6 separate regions of the Homo sapiens genome follow, and regions 2, 3, 4, 5 and 6 are each linked to region 1. Evidence: promoter capture Hi-C in 16 types of primary human blood cells and fetal thymus (Javierre and others, 2016). All regions are on one chromosome and are shown on one strand. The core of a region is centred on a gene start or on the middle of the fragment in contact, and the rest is flanking DNA. Distances in the headings are between cores, read along the strand shown.

Region 1 (4,077 bases), core at 436-2,935:
TCTTAAATAGAACCATTGGATGACCAAAAAAAGTCCTTAAAAAGCACGAATCCAGTCCTCAACCTAATGATTTCACAACTTATTATCTCCAGTATATTCCTCAAACTATTGAACTTCACCATTAAAATATCTGTCTCACATCTAATATCAATCTCTCCCATTGTAGAATAAGGCAATTAATTTAGAGCCCATTTTTCTGTTCAGCTGAGAATGGAAAATAATTGATCAGCATCCTCCGAATTAATCATTATCCATGATAAATATCTTCAGACTTATGTAACAGAAACTATAAAAAAAAAAGAAAAACTCTGGACTTTTCCTGTGTACAAAAATAAAAAAGGTGAGCCCTCCAGAAACGCAGTTTTGCGTGAGTGCGTACTTGGAGCTGTTTGCCAGGCTGCAGACTTAACTCAGAGCACTATATGAAAGCACTGCATTTCCAGGCACTGCCAAGCCCGTTTGTTCATAAAATAAAGCAACAGTTGGGCAAATGTCAAAAGCCACACTACGAAGAACCTGACAGTAAACAGAAACCGATTAGCATAATCTACGTGGTCTGAGTGGTACTAAAACTTGACCTTTTTTTCTATTTTGATCTTTGCTACACAGCATAAAACAAAACAAAAATATTTAAAGTAAACTGCTAAATACAGCAGCAACTTCTGAAAGTCTAGGTCAGTAAAATTTAGAATGCTGCCTTGCTTGCAGGCAACAAGGGGTAGAGGACAATAAAGAACCTTTGTGTTCCGACTGGCAGTAACACAGCAGCGACTGCAGCAGCTCTATCCTTTAAAAAGGAGGCAGCTCCCTGTGTATTTATCACGACTTACATTAACTGGTCACGACAGTCTCCACCATTAGACTGTAAGCTCCAGGAAGGCAAGGACCATGACTCACCACAGTAGCCTCAGCGCCTAAAATAGGCGCTCAATAAATATTTGCTGCAGAATAAATGAATAGGCGGCGATGCAGAAGGGAAGAAGAGGCTCTGGGGACAACCCCAGAGTCCATGGGGACCTTCCTTGCCCGCTCCTCAAACTCTATACTAAGGTTCCCTCCAGCGTTCCCCAAGTCCTCCTGCGAGCTCCCAAACTCGGCTGAGTTTGCAGGGCGGCGACCAGCGCACCGACTTCCCCTCTGCCTGCCGCGACCCGCGGTGGGGTCCGCACGAAGCAGCCGCGGCACGCGGGGCGGGGCGACGCCAAAGTAACTCCGGAGCAACGCGCGGGGCCGCCGGTCCGACACACGCCCTTCCCTGAGCGGCCGCCGCCGGGCGCACGCGCCCCGCAGCCCGAACGCCGCCCCATCCCTAGAGAAATCAGGCGGCGGCTGTTTGGGCTTTTGTGTCTGTAGAAAAACGCGTAAATGCGTGAAAGACTCCGAGAAAAACCGGTTCACCCTCTTCCGCCACCCACTCAGGCACAGCCAGCAGTCCGTGTTCCCAAACACTGCTGATTCCCAGCAGGCCCGCCTCCGCCTCGGCCCGGTCGACTCCGGGCCCGGCCCTTCCCCCCGCGTCTGTCTCTCCCAGAGGCGGTAAGGGCCTGGCATCCGCAACCCCGCGCGGTTTCACCTTCTGAATCGCAGCGGGAGTGATCTCCCCCTTGCCTCGCTGCCTCGGGGCCGCGAAAGCCACAGACATGTTGCCGCCGTCACCACTATCGGCAAGTCCCGAGCGCTCCGGGTGAACGGCAAACTGGGGGAGAGACGCCGGCCTCTCGGGCTGAACCACCTCGGGAATGCGGGGAGGGGGGATGCTCCGGGGCCAAGCGGACGGGCGGCGGGGCAGGCCTGAAGGAGGCACTCTGGCCAGGGATGTCTCGCTTCTGCGCACTCTGGGGGACCCCTAGCCCTGGCCGAACTTTCTTGACCGTCCCTGCATCCCCCGAGCTCTCCTTATGGGCACCCCCTGGCCCTTTGCGCTAATGGTAGAGTCGCGCCCTAGTCCTCCCTCCGCTTCAGCGATTCAGGAAATGGTCCCGCCGCCGCGGGAGAAGGAGAGGCTGGGGCAGCCCCTGTCACAGGAAATGCGAGCGGCCCAAGCCGGCCCGCCCCCTTCGCGCCGTGGCAACTTGCCTCCCTCTCCGGCCCTCTGAAGCGTCTCCCCGACTGTGTTGCAGAGCGTGCCCTAGACCTAGTTCAGTTTTTCCAACTTCATCCTTACTTACGCCTCCTGGCAAGAGTGGCCGCCCCGAGTTGTCCCGGCAGCCCGGAGAGGGGAGGGAGGTCAAGACTCGGGAGTTCGTGCAAATCCGTGGAGCATCTGCCGAGATAGGGCAGAGGTGGAAGGACAAGGTGAACGCGGATTCGCTGGTTTAAATGGCTCGGCTACGCCCCAAATGCGCACCTCCGAGTCCACAGTCTCGCACGCACGCACAAAGTCGTGCCTAACAATTGGAAAGTAACCCTGACCCGAAACCGGGACACCAAGGTTGTGTCCAGTGCTCAGGGGCAATCGGCCAGCTTGGCTGGAGCGGACAGAGAAGAGCTCGCCTCTTGGGACAAACCCTTAGCAGGAAAGTGGGTCGATTTCGTCTGACTTGGCTTTTTGGAATTAAGTTGTGAAACAGGGCATCCTCACTCTCTGTTTTTTAAGAGAGTACTTACTTAGTGCCTTGTAAATTAGGCCCAAGCTGCCAGGCTTCAAGTCAGTGTAAGGGAAAAAGGCAAAGTTTTCAAATTATGGAAGGAACACGGACAAATGTGGGTTTTGTGTTGCCGTGGGGTTTTAAAGTATTCTGTAAATTTAGACTTCCATATAACACAAAGGGAAAGTTTATATAAAGTGTTACCCAACGTTAATGAATAATAAAAAATATTTCCATTTTTATATAAATTGGAAAAATAAAGAAAAAATACATTATTTTAAAAATTTAATCACTTGAGGCCAGGAGTTTGAGACCAGCCTGGGCAACAAAGTGAGACCTCTGTCTCTACAAGAATTTTAAAAATTGGCTGGGTATGGTGGTGTGCACCTGTAGTTCCAGCTACTAAGGAGGCTGAGGTGGAAGAATCACTTGAGCCAAGGGGGTGGAGACTGCAGTAAGCCATGACTGCCCCACCACACTCCACCCTGGGTGACACAGCAAGACCCTGTCTCAAAAAAAAAAAAAGAAAAATTAAGTATCAAATAAATGCTCTTCACAAAAATGTCAAGAATGTCATTGATTAAATGCATTGTTTGTTAGGCTTTATACTGGAAACCTAGGGTACGATTGTGAATAAGCTGGACATGGAACCTCCTCTCAAGGAGCTTATACACTAATGGGACTAACAGACCAGAAACAAACAAATATGTATATATGCAAAGTCCCAAGAAAAACTAGCCAAAAAAAAGGGGGAGGAACTAACAGAATGACAGGAACACTTACATGAGTTAGTGTGAAAAGTCTTCCCGATTATATTTAAACTGGGACCTAAAGGATGAAGACTCAAGCTGTCATAAGAATAAAGGGAAGAAAGTTTATGCTGCTACTGACAGTAATTACTCTTAAAAATTTAATTGTTATCTTTCACTATTGTAAGCCTTGAAGAAAACACTCTGGTATAGCTGGACTTAAGGTAATCACACCAAATTGGAAAACTGTCAAATTTGGAAACCAATACTTGTCTACCACTATCACTGTGCACTCAACACCTAGCATGCAGAGTCATGTCTCAATGCTTTACACAAAAGTACCTTAGTACTTAGTAGCTAAGAACAGTATTTCAATAGGAAACATGAATCGTAAATAGTCCTACTGCTCCAGTTCTGTGCATTTGGCAGATAGCACTGAAACTTCAAAGGGCAACATGAACCAGTAGGAACACTTGTCTAATTTCCATATCCCAGCAAAAAAATAAGTAGTCCAAGGGGGCTTCTATTCCAGGGAGGCACCTGGAGCTAGTTACCTTCTTTATTTAAATTACAGCTCCCCAAAGGTGAGAAAGGGAAATCCACTGAAAACAGGTTACAGTTGGCCTGAGATGTTTATTTCTTCAGAGTAGCAGGGTAGGGCCCAGAGAACCCATAGCCTGCAGGCATGGATAGCCACAGTCTTTTCTGTGACACCATGTATGCCATAAAGATACCATTAT
Region 2 (4,077 bases), core at 564-3,063, 250 kb after region 1:
GGAGTACTGGACAGGGACAAATGAAACTTGTCATGAAAAGTACATTCTAGCAATCAAATTAATATAGCAAGAGGAAGACATTCTTAAAATGACAAGTTATAAATAACTTGTGTATGACAGCAGAGAAACAGATTGAAAGGTTTCAAAGCATTGATAGTCTAGGACAGTGGTTCTCAAACGTTGACATGCATAAAATTATCTGGAGAGCTTGTTAAAATACAGATTACTAGGTCCCACAACCAGAGTTTATAATACTGTAGTAGGTCTAGGGTAGGACTTGAAAATGGGATTTCCAATAAATTACCAGATGTTGCTGCTATTGCTGCTGCTGCTCTGCAGATCACACTGAGAATCATTGATCTAGGATGAGAAAGAAGGGGGGCTTTAAAAGTCATCACTTTTATTTTCCCACTAACTAAATGGTCAAAATACTGTGATTTGGGAATCTGAGATTTGGCCTCTTGAACTGTCATAGTTCATTTATCATCCAATTATCATTCATTAGGTTCTCTTGGAACCATGAAAGCTTCACTAGGTTTCCTTCATGGATATTTTTACAAGATAACTTTAATGGTAGTATTTCTTTACTGGTATACCTTAAATGGAAAAGAAAATATTAGAGATTCATAAGAAGATTGCGTGCATACTTTATTTTGATGTGTAGGATCTATGTGTTTTGAGAGACTTATTACTCTCTTAGTAGAAAGATGCCTGTTTAAAAAAAAAATAGCATTGAACTGGAAGTAAAGTATCTTGGATTCTAGATTCAGGCTGCCATTATCAAGAGCTTGATTTAATTCTTTGAACTTACCTCTGTTTCCTCATATTTAAATGAACTTAACGATTCCTGCTCTGCTTATAAGATTGTCATAATTTAGGGGAAGGCGAGGCATAAAAGAAAAAACCAGTAGTTTATAAACACTAACTGTAGGAACATTTAAGATAGATGTCATTGAGCTCTTAGATTTAGGTTTGAGATAGACCATGAATATGTTCTTTCTTTCCTTCCAGAGGACTGGAAAGAAAATGAGAAGAAAAAAGAGTGTAAGGATGACAACTGAAAAAAAAATTTTGTAATATAGAATAACTGTAGCACATTTATATTTTACACAATTTATAAATCAAATGTTATTGGTTTAAGTTAAAGAGAGAAGGTGTCTAATTGAGATTATGAGGAATATACCATTTTTTTCAGGAAGGTAGGGATGGATGAGTAGGGTTGACCAGCAAGGCACCACAGTTTACGTATCAAATTCCAGGAATCTCAGATGTTCTGGACAGTGTCCTGGTATCATAATAACCAGCCTTAGTGGTTGGGAGAAAAAAAAATAGATTCTAAACTGTTTGATTTGGTGGAATGACTGCTAATAATTGTCTTTGAGGGCTTAAAAAAGATCTTGTATTTCGGTTGTGGTATCCTTGAAGTTAAGATAAGGTGGACTGGTGATTTTTTAAAAATTTGCAACTTGCTTTTTGGTTCCCTTGACTTAAGATTCAGCTGTTAATGTTTAGTAGTTTTTTTTTCCTGTTTGTTTGTTTTGTTTATTTTAGCATTTAACCTTGCATTCCCTGGTAAACTTGATCTTTTAAGTAATGATTCAGATGTAATTATCAGCATTGTTAAGAATTTTAGAGTTTGATCCATGAAATTTTCCAAAGTATATCTAATTCAATTTAAATTTTTACTATTTAAAACATTTCCATTGTTTGGTGTTAGGGTTTTGTTTTTACCTTTATGTGTACTTAACGTTAATTGTGAAATCTAAGCAGGACATTATTCTTAGTTCTTTTATCCTGAGTTCAAAACCTGGTGTGATACACTTTGTTTCTCTAATTTCTTTAGATTTTTTCATACATTCCTATTTGGTGGTGTGATTATTTTCATTGCTACTAACACTTTCCTTAAGCATGAGAAAGAAAAACATTTTTTGATTTCCCATATTGTCTATATCATAACTATCTAGATAAATTTGGTTCTTCCTGTTAAATGTGCCCCTGTTCCTGTCCAGGCTGTTAGCTAATATGAAACTTGGTTTATTCATTCTTCAGCTAGTACCTCTGATTCTGCTTAATCTTTTGGTTTCTGTTTTCAATAGTTTTTAATTTTCCTTTTATTCTTGAAAATTATGTGCTTAGCATCAAGAAGTACGTCTATTGAACGTTACCTCTGAGAACTTGTGTGATCTTCAAAGTAATTTCTTAATGTTTTTTGGGTCTTGATTAAAGGCTGTACTACCATGAGTTATACTTATAAATGAAGAGATGAGTACCTAACACCAGAAATAAAATAATCTTCAATTACTGTTGCTTAGTTGCCTTCTAAGGCACTACCTTGAATTTTAGAGACTTCTACTTCCTATCATAGAGACTGTGAAAAGAGAAATGAAGGCTTCTGCCTTTTTCATTAGCCATAAAGGAAATAGCATATTCTTAAAAGAGAACCTCCCAAACCTGTTTGGTCTCTTTGGAGCAAGGTGTTTGTTGCTGGTGTTGGTGAGCAAGCAGTCTTACATTTTATTAAACAAAGGCTAGTCAGTATATAATATAACAGAAACCAATTGTCAGAATTCTGGCTATTAAAGAGTTCCAGTTAAGATGGAGTAAAAACACTTCATATTTTCTCTCCCACTGAATACAACTATAAAACCTGAACAGATGCATGGAGCAGCTATTTGAGGACATTGAAAGGTAAATAGTAAACAGATTGGGGAAGAAGATAAGAATTCAAAATACTACTTGAACTGGTGGTGAGGTTGCCACCCTCCATCCCCTACCCCCATTCTTCCTACTGCTTGATTCTAGACCTGGATGCAATCACAGACGTGGGTGGGAAAGTGGGCTAAATCCCCAGCTTTCTGGCCAGGAGGAGCTCCAGGGAACCAGAAATTACTGGGAAGATGACAGAGAGGGAGGAGCTCAGGAAAGCAACCCCATGTGATTGTGTTAAACTCCTAGACCTACTCCTGAACTATACATTTGCCATATGTGGATCTTATTCTAATGAGCGTACCAAAGCCTTTAAGAACTGGACCAACAAACCACCACCAGATCCCAGATTGACCACTGGGGGATGCACAGGGCAGATCCAAATAACATTGCAAAAGCTTTGAAAACTGAGCTGACGTTGTAGCCACAGATCACAGAAGTCACATTGGAACCTGTGGCTTGAACCTGTGTTGATTGCATGCTAAAACAAAGGTATTAACATTCTCCAAAGGATTTCTAGAATACCCAGAGTTTCATAATACAGTTGACATAGGTTTGAAGTGTACAGGTCCACTTATATGTGGATTTTTTTCAACCACTTGTGGATGGAAAATACACTATGTGCAGGATGCAAAACCCACATATGTGGAGGGCTGACTTTTCATATACACGAGTTCTGCAGGACTGACTGAGAACTGAATATACATGGATTTTGGTGTACCTCGGCATCCTGGAATCAATCCCCCATGTATACCAAGGGACGACTGTATTCAAAATATTCAGGATACAATACAAAATCACTTGACAGGAAGAACCAGGAATATCTTAACTCCCATAGGAAGAGACAATCAACAGATACCAGCCCCAAGATAACATAGATGTTGGAATTATCTGACAAACACACTACTATAAAAATGCTCCAAGAAGCAAATTATAAACACTCTTGAAATGATAGGAAAAATAGAAACTCCCAGCAAAGGGCTAGAAAATATAAAGAATAAAGTTATAAAATGGAAATTTAGGAACTGAAAACGACAATAACCAAAATAAAACACATTCAGCTGAATGAGCTGAATAGCGGATAGAAATGACAAGAGTCAGTTAACCCAGTCAATAAACCCAGGTTCAACTCACATCATAATCAATCTCTGAAAACTATATAGATGTAGAAAATAAAAATTTTGAAAGTAACTGAAGAAAGGGACACATCAATAGAAGAACAATAATTACAATGACTAGATTTCTCATTAGAAAGCAAATAGAAAAACTATTTTTTTTTTTTAAAAAAAAAGGGAAAAAAACCTGTGGAGATCAGAAGAAAGTGGCAAAACATTTTTAAAAGGAACTTTCAACTTAAAATCCTATATATCA
Region 3 (4,077 bases), core at 645-3,144, 230 kb after region 1:
AGTGCTTTTTAAAAAGCCTATTTAAAACAGATGACCTAATTGCCTGTATCTTTAGATTTAAGCCTCTGTTGATATAAGTGGTTTCACTGGGGCTGAGAAGTACTATTTAAATTACGGACAAGGTTGATTTATAAATGAACTTCTGACTCTTTTGAGTATGTGGTCCAAATTGTTTTCCTGAAACTTTCTTGCTAGTTAGCAGAAGGAAGAAGTTTGATTTTTTTATGGAAAGGAAATCTAGTGAGAGAGAAGTTATTCAGATAGGTAGGTGAAACGATGAGGTTTTGAACCCATTTGAACTTGTAAATTGACTACTAAGTGAATATATCAGAACATCAGTTAATGCAAAGTAAACATGATTGGTAATAGACAAAAGGAATATAGGTATGTCTTGTAGACAAGGCATTAACAGAGACTCATAATCTGAATTCATTTAAATAAATGTCATAAATTGTTAACAGTGTCAAACAGGGCAAAATGTAATTTTCTATTTTTTTAATTACTAAAATTAACAGAATATGGTACTAATTTCTGCAGTTACCATTTTCCTCCCTGAACAATAGACTTGATTTGTGTTCTTATTAACTTTGTCCTATAAATGACCTTGCAAGGAGAATGATTCTAGAGGCTAAGTGAAACAATGTCTATATTTTCTGAGGCTTCAGGCTAGGTTTTATTAATGTAATGTCTAAGATCTTTGAAGTTGTGACTTTACTAGGAAAATCATAATCTCCAAACCTTTATTCATAATGGGTATGACTTCCAGGGGGAACAGAATACCTGCTGTGCTAATTATTTCAATTATCAGCCACTACTAAAACACGTAATGGATTTTCTCTGCTTCTGCAGGTAAAAAGCATGACATTACAGAACTTAACTCTGATGCTGTGAACTTGATCTCCCAAGCAACACAGGAACGACTACGAGGCCTTCTAGAAAAACTGACTGCAATTGCTCAGCATCGAATGACTACTTACAAGGTAAAGGAAATCATTAAAGAAGTATAAACTCTCGAGTGTTATAGGTAGTCTTTTGGGCGTGGATTGATATTCTAAACACGTTTTTAAAGGAATGGTTGAGGCTTATATTTCATATTAGTGGAAAATCAAAGTCTCATTCTTATTTAGATAAGCTTACATGACAAATAAAATTAAAATGGAGTTTAAAATGATATTAAAAGCTTCTGTGTCACTGTAGATTGAAATATGTATCTGTTCTGCATGAGGCTTCTCTTAAGCTTTTGATGGGGAAGGAAAGATATGTTAGAATGGAATATTGGCTACTTGTGTTCTCTTCAGTGTTCTGCACTCTCCTCGCATTCCTGTTCCTTTTTTTTTTTTTGCCTTTCAGTTTTCCAGAGATTGATTTATTTTAAAATAAATTTTATTGTATATATTAATATTTAAGGTATACAACGTGTTAAAGATACACATGTATAGTAAAATTATTACTATTTAGTTGAATAAGTTAACATTTTCATTATCTCAAATCTACCCATTTTCTCCCCTGTGGCAAAAGCAGCTATAATCTACTCATTTAGCAGAAATCCTGAAAACAATATATTACTAACCATAGTCCTTATGTTCTACATTAGATCTTTCCACTTGTTCATCCTCTGTTCCTTTTAATAAGTTAAATGATTGCATTGAGTGCTCATATTGATGCTACTAAGTGTTATTGGCTACTTTTATTAAAAAAACTAAATACAGGAATAGCTTGTATCCCTAGTGGTATGAACCAAATGACTTGCTGTTATCAAGGTAAAATAACTTGATGTAGTTTTGGAGGAGGGCGAATATATTGGGTGATTAGGGATGAAAAGAGAAGGTAACCTGAGTTGAAAATAAATAAATAAATAAGATAACTGTTTCCCTCTTTCCAAGAAATGTTTATAGCTAGATTTTGAACAAGATGGTATGTAGGTAACCTTAAGAGATTTTGAATTTGGAAGAATGGTCATTGCCGTGATATCCTAGTCAAAGGTTAAAGGAAACTAGGAAATTGTCAGCTACTACACCACCAGTAAGTTCCCTGGAGGAATCATATTATTTTATTTTTTTTTCCTTTCCATTTAGAACTTTGGAAAAACTACATATGATTGCCAAGGTCCTCACTTGCATAAATCTTTGTGAGAATTTGCTGGACTGACTTAGGAATATGTGATCAACAGGAGAAAAAGCTATGAAAAAAACAAAAAATTAATATCAGTATTTTATAATTCCTAGAAACACACAAAAATAAATAAAGATATTAATTTTGTGTTTCTAGGAATTTTTTCATTTCTCCTAGGTTATCTAATTTGTTGGCATAGGACTGTTAATAATACTGTCTTGTAACCTTTTATTTCTGTAAGGTCAATGGTAATGATCCCCCTTACATTACTGATTTTTGTTATTTGCATCTTCTCTCTTTTTCTTCTTTGCTAGTAAAGCGAATGGTGTGTTGATTTTGTTGAGCTTTTCAAATAACCAACTTTTGGTTTTATTAATTTTCTGTTTTTCTATTTTTGATTTCGTGTATCTCCACTCTAGTTTTTATATTATTTTCCTTCTAAGCTTCAGGCTTAGTTTGCTCTTCTTTTTTTTTAGTTTCATAAGATGTAAAGTTAGGTTTTTTATTTGAGATCTTCCTTTTATAATGTAGGCGTTTACTACTATACATTTCCCTCTGAGTACTGCTTTCACTGCATTCCATAAGTTTTGGTATGTTGTGTTGTCGTTTTCATTTATCTTTAAATATTTTCTCATTTCTTTTGAGATTTATTTGATTCTTTGTGACTGTAGAGTATGTTGTTTAATTTCCAAATATGTGGGAATTTTCCAGTTTTCCTTTTGTTGTTGGTTTCTAGCTGTATTCCGTTGTGGTCAGAGAAGATACTTTGTATGAATCATTCATTTAAAATGTACTGAGGCTTGTTTTATGACTTAACATACATTGTATCCTGGAAAATGTTTCATGTGCACTTGAGAAGAATGTGTGTTCTGCTCTTGTTTCATAGATGTCTGATAGATATAGTTGGTTTATAATGTTAAGTCCTCTGTTTCCTTATTGATCATCCATCTGGATGTTCTATTCATTATTGAAAGTGCAGTATTAAAATCTTCAACTATTGTGGAGCTCTATTTTTCTTTTTGTTTTAGAGACAGGGTCTCACTCTGTCATCCAGGCTGGAGTGCAGTGGTGCAATCATAGCTCATTGCAACCTTGAACTCCTGGACTCAAGCACCCTCCCACCTCAAGCCACCCTCCCACCTCAGCCTTTCCAGTAGCTAAGACTAACAGGCGTGTGCCACCACACCCAACTAATTTTTTTTTTTTTTTTTTTGAGACAGGGGCTCACTATGTTGCCCATGCTGTGGAATTGTTTTTTAAACAAAATTCTGTCAATGTTTGTTTGCTTCATATATTTGAGAAGTCTGGTTTGATGTGTATATCTTCTTGATGAATTGACCTTTTTATCAATATATAATAATGTCCTTGTTTGTCTCTTTTAAGGGTTTTGTACTTAAAGTCTATACTGTCTGATATTACTTTCTTTTGTTTGTTACTTGCATGGAATATCTTTTTCCATCCTTTCACTTTCAGCGTATTGGTATGGTTTCAACTAAAGTATAGACAGCATATAATTTGATCATTTTTTAAAATTCATTCTGCTAGTCTCTTTGAAGAGCTTACTCCATTTACATTTAAAATGTAATTACTGATAAATAACTTCTATTTTGCTATTTCTTTTCTGTATGCCTTATAAGTTTTGTGTTCCTCACTTCCTCTGCTTCTTATGTTTAATTGTTTTTGTTTTGTTCCATTTTGATCCCCTTCTCATTTCGTTTTGGATATATTTAGATATCTTCTTAGCAGTTACCATAGAGATTACAATTAACATCCTAAATCTACAATCTAGTTTGGATTGTTATCAGCTTACTTTTAATTTTGTGATGTGGGAAAATTATAGACATATTTTTGGCTTTTTACTATAACTCTTTAAAGTATCTTACAGTTTTTCAAACTTAGATTCTCCCTACTTCTGCCTTAATCACACTGTTGTTTCAGAGATACATGAATACCTTTTTTAGTAGA
Region 4 (4,077 bases), core at 881-3,380, 210 kb after region 1:
TTTTGTATTATATATTTGAAGCTCTGTTATTGGGACATCTCAAGCCACTAGTCATAGACTAGGGAGTGCATAGACTAGGGAGTGCTTTCAGACCAAAAGACATAAACTCACAAATTTTACCCATTACTGTTCCCATCATCCAACGGTTGACTTACCTCTGTTTTCTGCCTGCCTTTATTAAGTCTCCAAATGATTGCCTTTTAAAAACTGTTTGTAGATTTTGTAATTGTTATTGATCAAACTATTGTAGCATTACTAGAAACCACGACCATCATTTCTTTTTTAATGGATTATTGTCCTGTGGTATAGTTGTTTGCCTCTATGTTCTTGAACAATTAATTGTAGTTATTTTATTGTGTGCATGTGTGGTTTTCTTTGGTTGTTGTTGTTGTTTTTTTTTTTTTTGAGACAGTCTTGCTCTGTTGCCCAGGCTGAAGTACAGTGGCACAATCATAGCTCACTGCAGCCTTGAACTTCTAGGCTCCAGTGATGCTCCTGCCTCAGCCTCCCAAGTAGCTGGGACTACAGGCATGTGCCACTATGCCTAGCTAGCTTTTTTTAAAATTTATTTTTGTAGAGGTGGGGTCTTGCTTTGTCTCCCAGACTGGTCTTGAACTCCAGGCCTCGAGTGATCCTCCTGACTCAGCCTTCCAAAGCGCTGGGATTATAGACATGAGCCACCACACCCTGCCATTTGTGGTTAAAGTCAAATGCTTAATGTTTCCAATGTCCGGGTTACCTGTGACTCTATTTCTATTATCTGGCTTTTTAATCCCGTTTCTTTGCTGCACTTGGTAATATTTAATTAAATGTCAGATCTGTATGAAAAACATTGGTAAATGCCTCACTTATTAATAGGATCATGGTCCATTCATCCCTCAAGTTCTGGCAGCCTTGGACTTCAACTTCTTGTCTCTCTCTCTCCTCATGAGATTGCCTAATGCTCTGTTGGCTTTTCTGCCTCTTAGCAGCTGCTGGCTCTGTGGTTTCTTAGTGTCTTGTTCCACGTCAAGAATCAGCATGTGCCCAGAGGAAAAAAAACATGGAGAAATTTGGGGTTACTTCAGTGAGGTTCTCTTCTCTCAGGGCTGTCGTCCCTCAAGACCTGGCTCCCTCGGCAGCTCTCTGATGCCTTCAAATAAACTTAAAATTGTTATGGCTTTATTAGTTTCTTGTCCTCAAAACAATTGTCTGATTGTTTTGAGGTTACAATGGTCTGTAACAGAAACAGAAGTCCTTTTTAATTCTTTATACTTTTTTTGTGTTACACATATCTACTAGAGTTAGTGTTTTGCAATTTACTTTCTTTTATGGTATATTTTGATGAACAGAAATTCTTAATTTTAAAGTTGTTGAATTTGGCAGTTTCTTTTATGATTAATACTTATGCCTTATTTTAGAGATCCTTCTGGAGATCACAAAGATAGTCTCCTATATTGTCTTCTAAAAGTTTTGAAGTTTCATATTAAATTTTTTTTTTTTTTTTTTTTTGAGAAATGGTCTCTGTCACCTAGGCTGGAGTGCATTGAGTGGCACTATCATGCCTCACTGCAACCTCAAATTCCTGGACTCAAACAAGCCTCCAGAGTAGCTAAGACAACAGGTACACGCCATAACAATTGGCTAGTTTTTAAATTTTTTGTAGAGATGAGGATCTCGCTTTGTTGTCCAGGCTGGTTTCAAACTGGTGGCCTCAAGTGATCCTCCTGCCGCATCCTCCCAAAGTGCTGGGATTACAGGTGTGAGCCATCATGCCCAGCCTATTTGAATATCTTTTTGTCTTCAGGAGTTAAAATTTGGTTTTTGTTTTTGCTATGGTTTGGAGGTTTAGAGATCCTGATTCGTTTTTCCCCATATAGGAAACCACTTGTTCTAGCAGCATTATTGAATAATTTGTCCTTCCTCAGTGATCTGTAATGTCTCCTATGTCATATATATATGGATCTTCTCTTTTTTTTAATCTTTCTTTTTTTAAAATGCCTCTAATCAATAGTTAATCTTTTTTATCTCTATTTCATTTTATTGGTTAATTTTAAAATTTCCAATAGCATACAGTTTAATTTACTATAATTTCAAAAGAAGTTTTATATTTGGTAATGCATATTTTCTACCTACTTCTCCTTCTTCTTTATTTCCTTTTCTTCCTCCACTTTCATACCCGCTCCACTTTCATACCCCCTCCACTTTCATACTCCCTCCACTTTCATACCCCCTCCACTTTCATACCCCCTCCACTTTCATACTCCCTCCACTTTCATACTCCCTCCACTTTCATACCCCCTCCACTTTCATACCCCCTCCACTTTCATACCCCCTCCACTTTCATACTCCCTCCACTTTCATACTCCCTCCACTTTCATCCTCCCTCCGCTTTCATCCTCCCTCCGCTTTCATACCCCCTCCACTGTCATCCTCCCTCCACTTTCATACCTCCTCCACTTTCATACCCCCTCCACTTTCATCCTCCCTCCACTTTCATCCTCCCTCCACTTTCATCCTCCCTCCACTTTCATCCTCCCTCCACTTTCATCCTCCCTCTACTTTCATACCCCCTCCACTTTCATACCCCCTCCACTTTCATCCTCCCTCCACTTTCATACCCCCTCCACTTTCATCCTCCCTCCACTTTCATACCCCCTCCACTTTCATCCTCCCTCCACTTTCATACCCCCTCCACTTTCATACCCCTTCCACTTTCATCCTCCCTCCACTTTCATCCTCCCTCCACTTTCATACCCCCTCCACTTTCATACCCCCTCCACTTTCATACCCCCTCCACTTTCATACTCCCTCCACTTTCATACTCCTTGGCTCTACTTGGGCTTTTGCTATTCCCTATACATTTAATGATCAACTTGTTAAATTCTACCAGTAATCTGTTAGAATTTGAATTGGCGTGGCCTGAGTCCATAGGCCCACTGTCTTCCAGCTGATTTATTATAATTTGGATCCTTCTATGAACATGATTTATATCTCCATTATATATACCTTTTTAAACATCTTTCAATAAAGTAGTATAATTTTATTTATGCAGATTCTGCATGATTTGTTGCATTTATCTGTTAGATTTATTCCTAGATATCTTTCTTGTTGTTATTATAAGTAATATTTTTGGTAACTGCCTTTTCTTTTACTAGCATAGAGAAATTCAGGACTTAAAAAAATCATATACCAACAGCCTTGTTATTATTTCTAATAATTTCTAGATGATTTTAGATTATTTATATAGACAATGTCAAGATTGAGATTAGAATTATAGGTCGACTGTTTTTTTTTTTTTTTTGCTTTGAAGATGTTATTCCATTGTTTTTGGGTGTTCATATAAAATATATGTTCACATTTAAAGATAAACATGCAAGGAAGTATCCTTGAGTCAAGCTACAGGGAAACAGTAATACATTTGGAATTCCAGTGACTTCAAACATAGGATGATCAAATAGTAAGTGTTAAAAAATAGTATAAAGTATTTAAAAATAAAATACGGAATCTCAAGAATGAGCAAGAAACTATTTTTAAAAATGACTGCAAATACTTGAAAAAGAACCAAATAGGACTTTTAGAAGTAAAAAATGTAGTCAATAAATCTAAAACTTTGTGGGACAGGTAAATCAGATTAAACCTGAGGGTCTAAACTGAGTTTGCTTTCTTCCAGAGAGGATTTGTGACTGTTTCTAGTAGACCCAGGGATTACTATTGACTTGGAACCACTTTAGTCTTCTTCCTGGGAACTTGACTTACCCAGGAGTCTCAGATACACTTTTCCCATTGTAATCAAGAACTAGTGCTAGCCACAGTCATTTGCCCTTGAGGCAATTCTTCCTTTAGGATATGCTTATTGCTGATTTTTACTGACACCTTTTTTTTAACAGGTCCTGTGAACCAAACAATGGAATGAAAATGTCTTATGCTGTGTAATTGCTCCTCAGTAAATCTAGTCCACTTACTGCCTGAAGGAAAAATGTCACTATAAGTATTTTCTTTGGGAAATTTCTGACTTATTACTTTCGCCCATTTATCTGTTGACTACTTATTGCTTTCCAGACTTATGTACATATGCTGGACAGTAGTAATTCTTTG
Region 5 (4,077 bases), core at 842-3,341, 180 kb after region 1:
ATTAGTAAAGAATGAAGTTAATGATATCTGTCCACTTTAAGGGATAAGCATCTCAGTTTTAGGCATGGAAATAAGGAGCTAGAACTTAAAAATGAGAGAAGATACAACTCCTTGTACTTGATTGTCAGACTGTAAATGCAAATGTGTGTGTTAAGAAATTTTGAAAGTATTTTCCTATTAGGCTTAGTCTGATAAATATAACACAAGAACTAGTTAGAAATCTTGTGTTCACTTTTACCTTGTATTTGATGAAGATGTAGTTTGGCCCATTGTTAGATTGGAATCTAATGTGCAAATGACTAGTATTTCTAATTAAATGTGAATAAACCTAAAGCAATTGCTGTTTCAGACAGGTACAGAAAATGACCCTCCTTGAAATGCTATTTCATCTTCTAAATTTCCATACAACTCATTTTATTGGCTCTGTGTAGAATTGGTTTTCACACATTTATTTCACATATACTTCAGTCCGTTTTCCTCCTGTCCTCAAGACATGCCTAGTCAGTCAGTGCAGCCTTGAAAAGCATTGAAGTTACCATTGGCTGGTCTGTTGAGTCAAAGGCGGAGTTGTGATTGAGTTTAAGACACTTTGGGCCAGGCATGGTGAGTCACACCTGTAATCCCAGCACTTTGGGAGGCCTAGGCAGGTGGATCACCTGAGGTCAGGAGTTTGAGACCAGCTTGGCCAACATGTTGAAACCCTGTCTCTACTAAACATTCAAAAATGAGCCGGGTGGTGTGGTGGGGGGCGGCTCTCATCCCAGCTACTCAGGAGGCTGAGGCAGGAGAATCACTTGAACCCAGGAGGCGGAGATTGCAGTGAGCCGAGATCGCACCACTGCACTCCAGCCTGGTGGACAGAGCCAGACTCCGTCTCAAAAAAAAAAAAAAAAAGACACTTTTAAGGGTGAGGGGGAATGGAATTTATTAGGCGAAAAGAAAAAAAAAACTCAGCAAAGCCAGAGGGGTTCCCGTTAGCAGGCCCCCATCTCACAAATTGAATCTCGGGTCACCACACAGGAACAGGAGAGGCCAGGCTCCTCCCCCTTGCAAAGGGCCTGATCTTCCTGAGGCTCCACCCCTCCTCCTCCCAGTGGGCAGGCGCGTGGGGGATTCTTCTGGAACCTTTCCCCTAATCTTCCGGTTGCGTCTATCAAGATCATCAGGCATTAGATTCTCACGAGGAGAGTGCAGCTTAAATCACCTGCATGTGCAGTTCACGAGAAGGTTCATGCTGCTATGAGACTAATGGCACCGCTGGCCTGACAGGAGGCAAAGCTCAGGCAGTAATGCTCACTTGCCTCCTCTGTGTGTCTCTATTCCTGACAGGCCACAGACCTATACCCGCCCGCGGCACAGGGGTTGGGGACCCCTGTGGTAAGATACAAGTAGTAGCTATACTAGAAAGTGTTATGAAGGACAGATTTTTTTTTTACTGGAGACAGGATAAAACATTGACAAGGAAAATAGAATTCCATAAATGCCCCCTCTACTTGTAAACGATAGGACGTTTTTCCTAAACTCACATTTCAGTTGGACCTTAGTTTGCTTCCTGAGGGAGGGGGACAGTACACCCCCAAGGAACCTCTCCCATCAGTCCTCAGAGGTGATCATAACCACCAGCTAAAATTCCAGATTACACTTTCTTAAATATGGCAGTACAGAGAGTTAATGACTGATTATAAGATAGACTAAAGAAAGAGGCTTATTTACTGTATAGAAAACTAAAAATTTATTAGAAAATCTCCACAAGAATTCAGAAGAAACTGAGTGGTAGGTTGGAGAGCAGGACTAAAGATATGAAAAGGAGGGAGACTTCCTTTTGAATGTGCATTTGAGGCTCTATATTTAACAAAATTGTACTAACTTAGGTGTAATTTTTAATTTTATCTCTTTTGTTAAAAACTTTATTGTTCTAGTCCTCATCATTAATCAGTAATTTTAAAATCTTATTAAAGTTTTTGCCAGGTGAGCCTTTAGTTTACTTTTCTTTTATTATCCTTATTCAATATTGAAATATGTTACAGACCTTTCTCATAAAATGAACTGAACAGCTTTCCCTATTCTGTTTTTCTAGAACATGTTGTATAAGACAGGAGTTATGCAAAAGTGTGGAAAAATCACATGGAAAATATCTGAGCCTGGAGACTTGAGGGAGGGAGGTCTTTTTGGGTATCATTTCAATGTCTTTAATTTGTCTATTCTAGTTTCTGTGTTTTGTGCTAATTTTGTCATTTCATGTTTTTCCAAAAACCCTTTTGGTTTTGTTTCAAATGTATTAGCATATGGTATTTAATATTTTTATTATGCATTATGAAATATACATGCAAACAAGACTACATGTGATATGTACACATATGTAATATGTACACATATGTAATATGTCTGCTGTTGAAAAAAATAATAGTAAAATGAAGGCCCATATACCCCAAACCCATGTTAGGGCCACCATGTGTCCCCACTCCTCTCCTTCTATCAATTCTCAGCATTTTAAATGTTCTTCCTGTTTGTAAAGAAAATTTTTTTCTAGAGACAGGGTCTTGTTAGGTTACCCAGACTGGTCTCGAACTCCTGTCCTCAAGCAATCCTCCTGGCTCAGCCTTCCAAAGTGCTGGTATTGTAAGTGTGAGCCACTGCACTTGTCCTTCTTCCCATTTTTTACCCTCAGAACATTCTTGTCTAGTACATATTCCAGTCTCTCTAATGTGGGAGATTTTATTGTACATTCAAATTCACCTATCTTGACTATTATAGAAGGAAATTTTCTTGAAGGTGATTGCAACTTGACCTTTTTGTGTTGCATGCTTGTAGAACATAGACATTTAAATTAAATGATGGTGCATTGTTCAGTTTTCTGTGTGAATTGTATGTAAATACTATTCCTTATCCCTGATCCCCAAACTTTTATTATGTTCTGTAACTTTTAGTGTTTGTCTTTAAGATTGTTGCTTTATCTCAATGTGATTTTCTAAATTACTGCCTGACTTGTGATTGCTTGTATGAGGTTTTTGTCCTGTAGGTGATGCTAGCTAGAGTCACACCTCATTTTGATAGAAGGTAGAGAAACAACTGAAATTCTTTTCAGTGTGAATATAAGATACCACGTTTTATAATATTCTTCATGCTTACTTTAATGGTCTACATAAAAGCAGTTTATCTAAATTTTAGATAATAAGTAGATTGCTCTGCTTTGTTCTTAAGAAAAAGCAGAATATTCTATGTTCTCATAAAGACTTTCAGATACTTCTTGGAGTATTAATAATATTTTTTGAGGACTTATTTGCTTTAGCACTGTTTTTCACAAAAAATCCTAGGACAGCAGGTACCGTTGCAATCCCTATTTTTGCAGAGAGTAATCAGGATTAGCAAGATTAAGTAACTTGCCTGCAGTCAACACTTGGTAGGTGGTAATGAAATAGTAGATGGGGTGAGAATGAAACCCAGATCTGCTAGACTCAAGAGTTCCTAGAACTGTATTATATTGCCTTAGACTACTAGAGCATAACATAAAACCACAGATGTCAAAATTAACTTGTCTGATGAGTGTGAAATGAGGCACCCACTAATGTATCATAGTAATACATGCCTAAATATTTAATACCTTTAATTTCAGTCTGTGGCTGTGCCAACCAGTGTCGTCACAGTTACTCCTGGAAAGCCATTGAATACTGTAACTACCCTGAAGCCTTCAAGTTTGGGAGCATCATCCACTCCTTCAAATGAGCCCAATCTTAAAGCAGAGAACTCAGCAGCTGTTCAGATTAATCTTTCTCCGGTAAGCTCTTACTTGCACCTTACATAAATCTTGTTCCTTGCAAGTTCTTTTGAATTGTTTGCTCACTAACACTTGTGTTTGCTTATATTTACATTTTCATATTTAGACAATGCTAGAAAATGTGAAGAAATGCAAGAACTTCCTTGCAATGTTAATAAAACTAGCATGTAGTGGATCACAGTCCCCAGAAATGGGGCAAAATGTGAAGAAGCTGGTGGAACAACTTTTGGTAAGTAGTGCTATAAAATCCTGCAAATTCTGGAGGAATCCATATAACATGTTGTAATTGGGAAATGCATATT
Region 6 (4,077 bases), core at 1,004-3,503, 160 kb after region 1:
TGGCTCACGCCTGTAATCCCAGCACTTTGGGAGGCTGAGGTGGGTGGATCATGACGTCAGGAGATCAAGACCATCCTGGCCAACATGGTGAAACACCATCTCTACTAAAAATACAAAAATTAGCTGGGCGTGGTGGTACGTGCCTGTAATCCCAGCTACTCTGGAGGCTGAGGCAGGAGGATCACTTGAACCAGGGAGCTGGAGGTTACAGTGAACCGAGATTGTGCCACTGCACTCCAATCTGGTGACAGAACGAGACTCCATATCAAAAAAAAAAAAAAAAAGAGGAACCTGGCTGGGTGCGGTGGCTCATGCCTGTAATCCCACCACTTTGGGAGGCCAAGGCAGGTGGATTACTTGAGGCCAGGAGTTCGAGACCAGCCAGGCCAACATGGCAAAACTCGGTCTCTACTAAAAATACACAAAAATTAGCCAGGGTATTGTGGTACATGCCTGTAGTGTGAGCTACTTGGGAGGAGAGGCTTGAGAATCGCTTGAACCCAGGAGCAGAGGTTGCAGTGATCCAAGATTGCACTCCAGCCTGGGCAACAGAGCAAAACTCTCTCTCTCTCTCAAAAAAAAAAAAGATCATTTACGGTGAATTGAGTGCTGAAACATTTAATAAAGGTGTAGCACCAATGAAATTAAGATATAGAGCATTTCATTCCCAAAAGCTTTTTGTCTCTTTGGAAATAAAAATGTTATGCACACGTTCTCTATTTTTCACATAATTGGGATTCTGTGATACCACTTTTATATCCTGATTTTCACTTATCATTATATGGTGACAATTTTCTATATTGTGAACTCAACACTTTATTTATTTTTTTTTAGAGACAAAGTCTCATTCTTTCTTTCGCCTAGGCTGGAGTGCAGTGGCATGACCTCAGTTCATTATAATCTCCACCTTCTGGGTTCAAGCAATTCTCCTGCCCCAGCCTCCTAAGTAGCTGGGATTACAGGCACATGCCACCATGCCCGGCTAATTTTTGAATTTTTGATAGAGATAGGGTTTCACCATGTTGGCCAGGCTGGTCTCAAACCTCTGGCTTTATGTGATCCACCTGCCTTGGTCTCCCAAAGTGCTGGAATTACAGGCATGAGCCACTGCAGCCGTCCAGTTTTTGTTGTTGTTGTTGTGTTTGTTTTTGAAACAGGGTCTCACTCTGTCCCCCAGGCTGAAGTGGAGTGGCTCGAACATGGCTCACTGCAGCCTCAAACTCCTGAGCTCAAGTGTTCCTTGCCTCAGCCTCCCAAGTAGCTGGGACCACAGGCAGGTACCACCAGGCTTAGCTAATTATAAAAATTTTTGTGCTGGGCGCGGTGGCTCACGCCTCCTATCCCAGCACTTTGGGAGGCCGAGGCAGGCGGATCACGAGGTCAGGAGATCGAGACTGTCCTGGCTAACACGGTGAAACCCTGTCTCTACTACAAATACAAAAAATTAGCCAGGCATGGTAGCAGGCGCCTGTAGTCCGAGCTACTCGAGAGGCTGAGGCAGGAGAATAGCGTGAACCCGGGAGGCGGAGCTTGCAGTGAGCCGAGATCACGCCACTGCACTCCAGCCTGGGCAACAGAGCGAGACTCCATCTCAAAAAAAAAAAAAAAAAAATTTTTTTTTGTAGAGATGGGGTTTCACCATTTCGCCCAGGCTGGTTTTGAACTCCTGAGCTGAAGCGATCCACCCACCTCAGCCTTCCAAAGTGCTGAGATTACCAATGTGATCAGTGCTAACTATATCCTGGATTCTACGCTAAGTGCCATAGATGCAGTAATAAATAGGGTAGATATTCTGTGGGTTTAGTTTTTGTCTAACAAACTTATTTTTGTAAAATAATACATACATATAAAAAGACCAACAAATATGGAAAGTAAAAAGAAGAAAGTAAACATCACCTGAAATCTAACAACCTATCCTTAAAAAATGAAATTTAATAGAGATAAATAGAAGCTCAATTTTGGCAAATCAGCTGTGTAAATGGAGGATAGGGGAGATATACCATAACTAATAGCACGACCTGGGATATAAACTTCTTGATTGCTTTAATTTTTTCTTTTATTTATTCAATTCAGGAAATGAGGGAAATTTAAGTGACTTTAAGCTCTTTGTAAGGAAAACTGTGACGTGAAAAATGGAAGAAATTTGGCCTCTAGTGCCTGAGGAAGGAAACAACTTAGCGTCTAAGTGTTTCCAGTCCTATGGAAATGAGAGTGGGCTTATTCTGTGTGGTTGCAGAAGGTACCCTCACATCTCTGGATATTAATGGGAGGCACGTTTGGTTCCATATTAAGGAAGGACTTATATTCGTGATCTGCTTGTGAAAGAGTGACACAAAGAAATCTGCGTTTTCCTAACCCTGGACTATTTGAAAAGAGGCTAAAAGGTGACTAGTGAGGCATTCTGTATATGTATTAAATTGTAATAGATGAATTCTAGCATCTTTAAGGCTCTTAGATTTGTAAGGATCTGCTATTTTTTCAGGGGCAGTATTTACAAATGCTGTGAATGTGGAGAAGTCAGAGAACTTCCATTCAGATCAGCTTGACACCAAGAAATTGGCATTTTTGGATGTTGGGATGTAGCAGTTCACTGGGCTGAAGGGTAGAATATGTAAATCATGTACCAAGTAGAGAGTGGACACTGGACCACGATACACTTTAATATCTTAATATTTATAGAGGAACGGTGCTATGTAACCTAATATATGATTACATTCTGTCAATATGCTTGTAGAATAAACAGGCCATTCTTTTATGATTGGAAAAAGTGAGTCTCAGATACTTATCAGGATTGGATTCAAAGAAACTTGGTCACTGGTCTTCAGAGAAGAGACTAACATTCAGTTTCCCTTTGTTTTTAAGTGCTTTCTATTATATTATTGCTTCTCATTGGCATTGGGCCTTTGAGATAAATAATTGGTTAAGGTTGCAAAAGGAGTGTTTTGCATCTTGAAAACACTTTGGTCTGAAGATGAGCTGGTTATTTTATTCTCAGCATTGCCTGTCTACAGCTATTCTAATATTGCCTCCTACTGATGTTTTGAGTACTTAGTTGAAGAAAAGTTTGAATTGTGGACCTCTTGGCATTAATAGCTACCTGCTCAAAAATTCAAAAATCCTCTCACATATATTGTCTCATTTGGTTCCTTTAACAATCCAGTGAGGTGGGTCTGAGGTTTACCCATCCATGAACATGGATCTCTTTCCATTTATTTAGATCTTCTGTAATTACTTTCAACATACGTTTTTCAACGTGTTTTTTACATGTTGAAAGTAATTAAAGTATGAAGACATTTCTTAGTTTTCATAGTGTTAGTTTTGTACTTTGTTAAATTTATCCTTGAAGTATATTATTCTTTTTGGTGCTATTGTGAATAGAATCATTTTCTTAATTTCATTTATGGTTATTCATTGCAAGTGTATAAAAATACAGTTGATTATTGAATATTGATCTTGTATCCTGCTACCATGCTAAATTGATTACTTCTAATAGTTTTTTAGAGGGTTCATTAGGATTTTCTATATATAGTAGTTCCTCTTCCCTTATCTAATGGTTTCATTTACCCATGGTCAACTGCCTCCAAAAATATTAAGTGGAAAATTCCAGAAATAAACAATTTGTTTTAAATCGTGTGCCATTCTGAGTATCGTGATGAAATCTCCCTCCATTCCACTGCATCCTGCCTGAAATGTGAATCATTCCTTTGTCCAGTGTATTGACACTCTGTACACTTACCTACCTATTAGTTACTTAGTAGCCCTCTTGACTGTTATAGTACACAGTATTACAGCGTTTGTGTTCAGGTAACCCTATTTTAATTAATAAGGGCCCCAAAGCTTACAAGAGTGGTGATGCTGGTGGCATATTTTTTTATTCTATTCTATTTTTATTTTTATTTATTATTTTATTAGTTATTTTATTTATTTATATATATTTTATTATTAGTTATTGTTGCCAGTATGTTACTGTGTGTAATTTATAAATTACATTTTATCATAGGTATGTATGTATAGAAAAAACATAATATGTGGGGTTCAGCACTGTCTGAGGTTTTAGGCATCCACTGAGATTGTGGA

What was found. Contacts are between HindIII fragments. The CHiCAGO score rates a contact against its expected background, and 5 or more counts as called.
Region 2: a fragment that was not itself captured here is called in contact with the fragment with the promoter of SS18 in region 1 in 7 of 17 cell types (activated CD4 T cells, naive CD4 T cells, non-activated CD4 T cells and 4 more); the score reaches 24.1 in activated CD4 T cells.
Region 3: a fragment that was not itself captured here is called in contact with the fragment with the promoter of SS18 in region 1 in 7 of 17 cell types (activated CD4 T cells, non-activated CD4 T cells, naive CD4 T cells and 4 more); the score reaches 22.4 in activated CD4 T cells.
Region 4: a contact is called between a fragment that was not itself captured here and the fragment with the promoter of SS18 in region 1, in 8 of 17 cell types (activated CD4 T cells, naive CD8 T cells, naive CD4 T cells and 5 more). The highest score is 23.1, in activated CD4 T cells.
Region 5: a contact is called between a fragment that was not itself captured here and the fragment with the promoter of SS18 in region 1, in 7 of 17 cell types (activated CD4 T cells, non-activated CD4 T cells, total CD8 T cells and 4 more). The highest score is 17.3, in activated CD4 T cells.
Region 6: a fragment that was not itself captured here is called in contact with the fragment with the promoter of SS18 in region 1 in 8 of 17 cell types (non-activated CD4 T cells, activated CD4 T cells, total CD8 T cells and 5 more); the score reaches 14.3 in non-activated CD4 T cells.

Annotation. Positions count from the first base shown.
Region 1 is chr18:26,088,928-26,093,004 of GRCh38, forward strand. SS18 (SS18 subunit of BAF chromatin remodeling complex) reads right to left here and starts at 1,686. Exons shown (of 11, transcript NM_001007559.3): 1 at 1,574-1,686. The coding sequence starts at 1,642. RefSeq lists an enhancer at 2,021-2,140. The HindIII fragment of the contact is 4,894 bases long and covers 1-4,077 here.
Region 2 is chr18:26,340,382-26,344,458 of GRCh38, forward strand. The region is part of intron 13 of TAF4B (TATA-box binding protein associated factor 4b); the gene reads left to right. Among named protein-coding and RNA genes, the nearest start is that of LINC01543, 81 kb to the right of the region's middle. The HindIII fragment of the contact is 2,578 bases long and covers 525-3,102 here.
Region 3 is chr18:26,320,221-26,324,297 of GRCh38, forward strand. TAF4B (TATA-box binding protein associated factor 4b) reads left to right here. Exons shown (of 15, transcript NM_005640.3): 11 at 850-980. Among named protein-coding and RNA genes, the nearest start is that of TAF4B, 96 kb to the left of the region's middle. The HindIII fragment of the contact is 1,318 bases long and covers 1,236-2,553 here.
Region 4 is chr18:26,300,902-26,304,978 of GRCh38, forward strand. The region is part of intron 9 of TAF4B (TATA-box binding protein associated factor 4b); the gene reads left to right. Among named protein-coding and RNA genes, the nearest start is that of TAF4B, 76 kb to the left of the region's middle. The HindIII fragment of the contact is 6,908 bases long and covers 1-4,077 here.
Region 5 is chr18:26,271,050-26,275,126 of GRCh38, forward strand. It overlaps TAF4B (TATA-box binding protein associated factor 4b), which reads left to right. Exons shown (of 15, transcript NM_005640.3): 4 at 3,614-3,775; 5 at 3,882-4,004. Among named protein-coding and RNA genes, the nearest start is that of TAF4B, 47 kb to the left of the region's middle. The HindIII fragment of the contact is 4,735 bases long and covers 1-4,077 here.
Region 6 is chr18:26,248,904-26,252,980 of GRCh38, forward strand. The region is part of intron 1 of TAF4B (TATA-box binding protein associated factor 4b); the gene reads left to right. Among named protein-coding and RNA genes, the nearest start is that of TAF4B, 24 kb to the left of the region's middle. The HindIII fragment of the contact is 3,163 bases long and covers 673-3,835 here.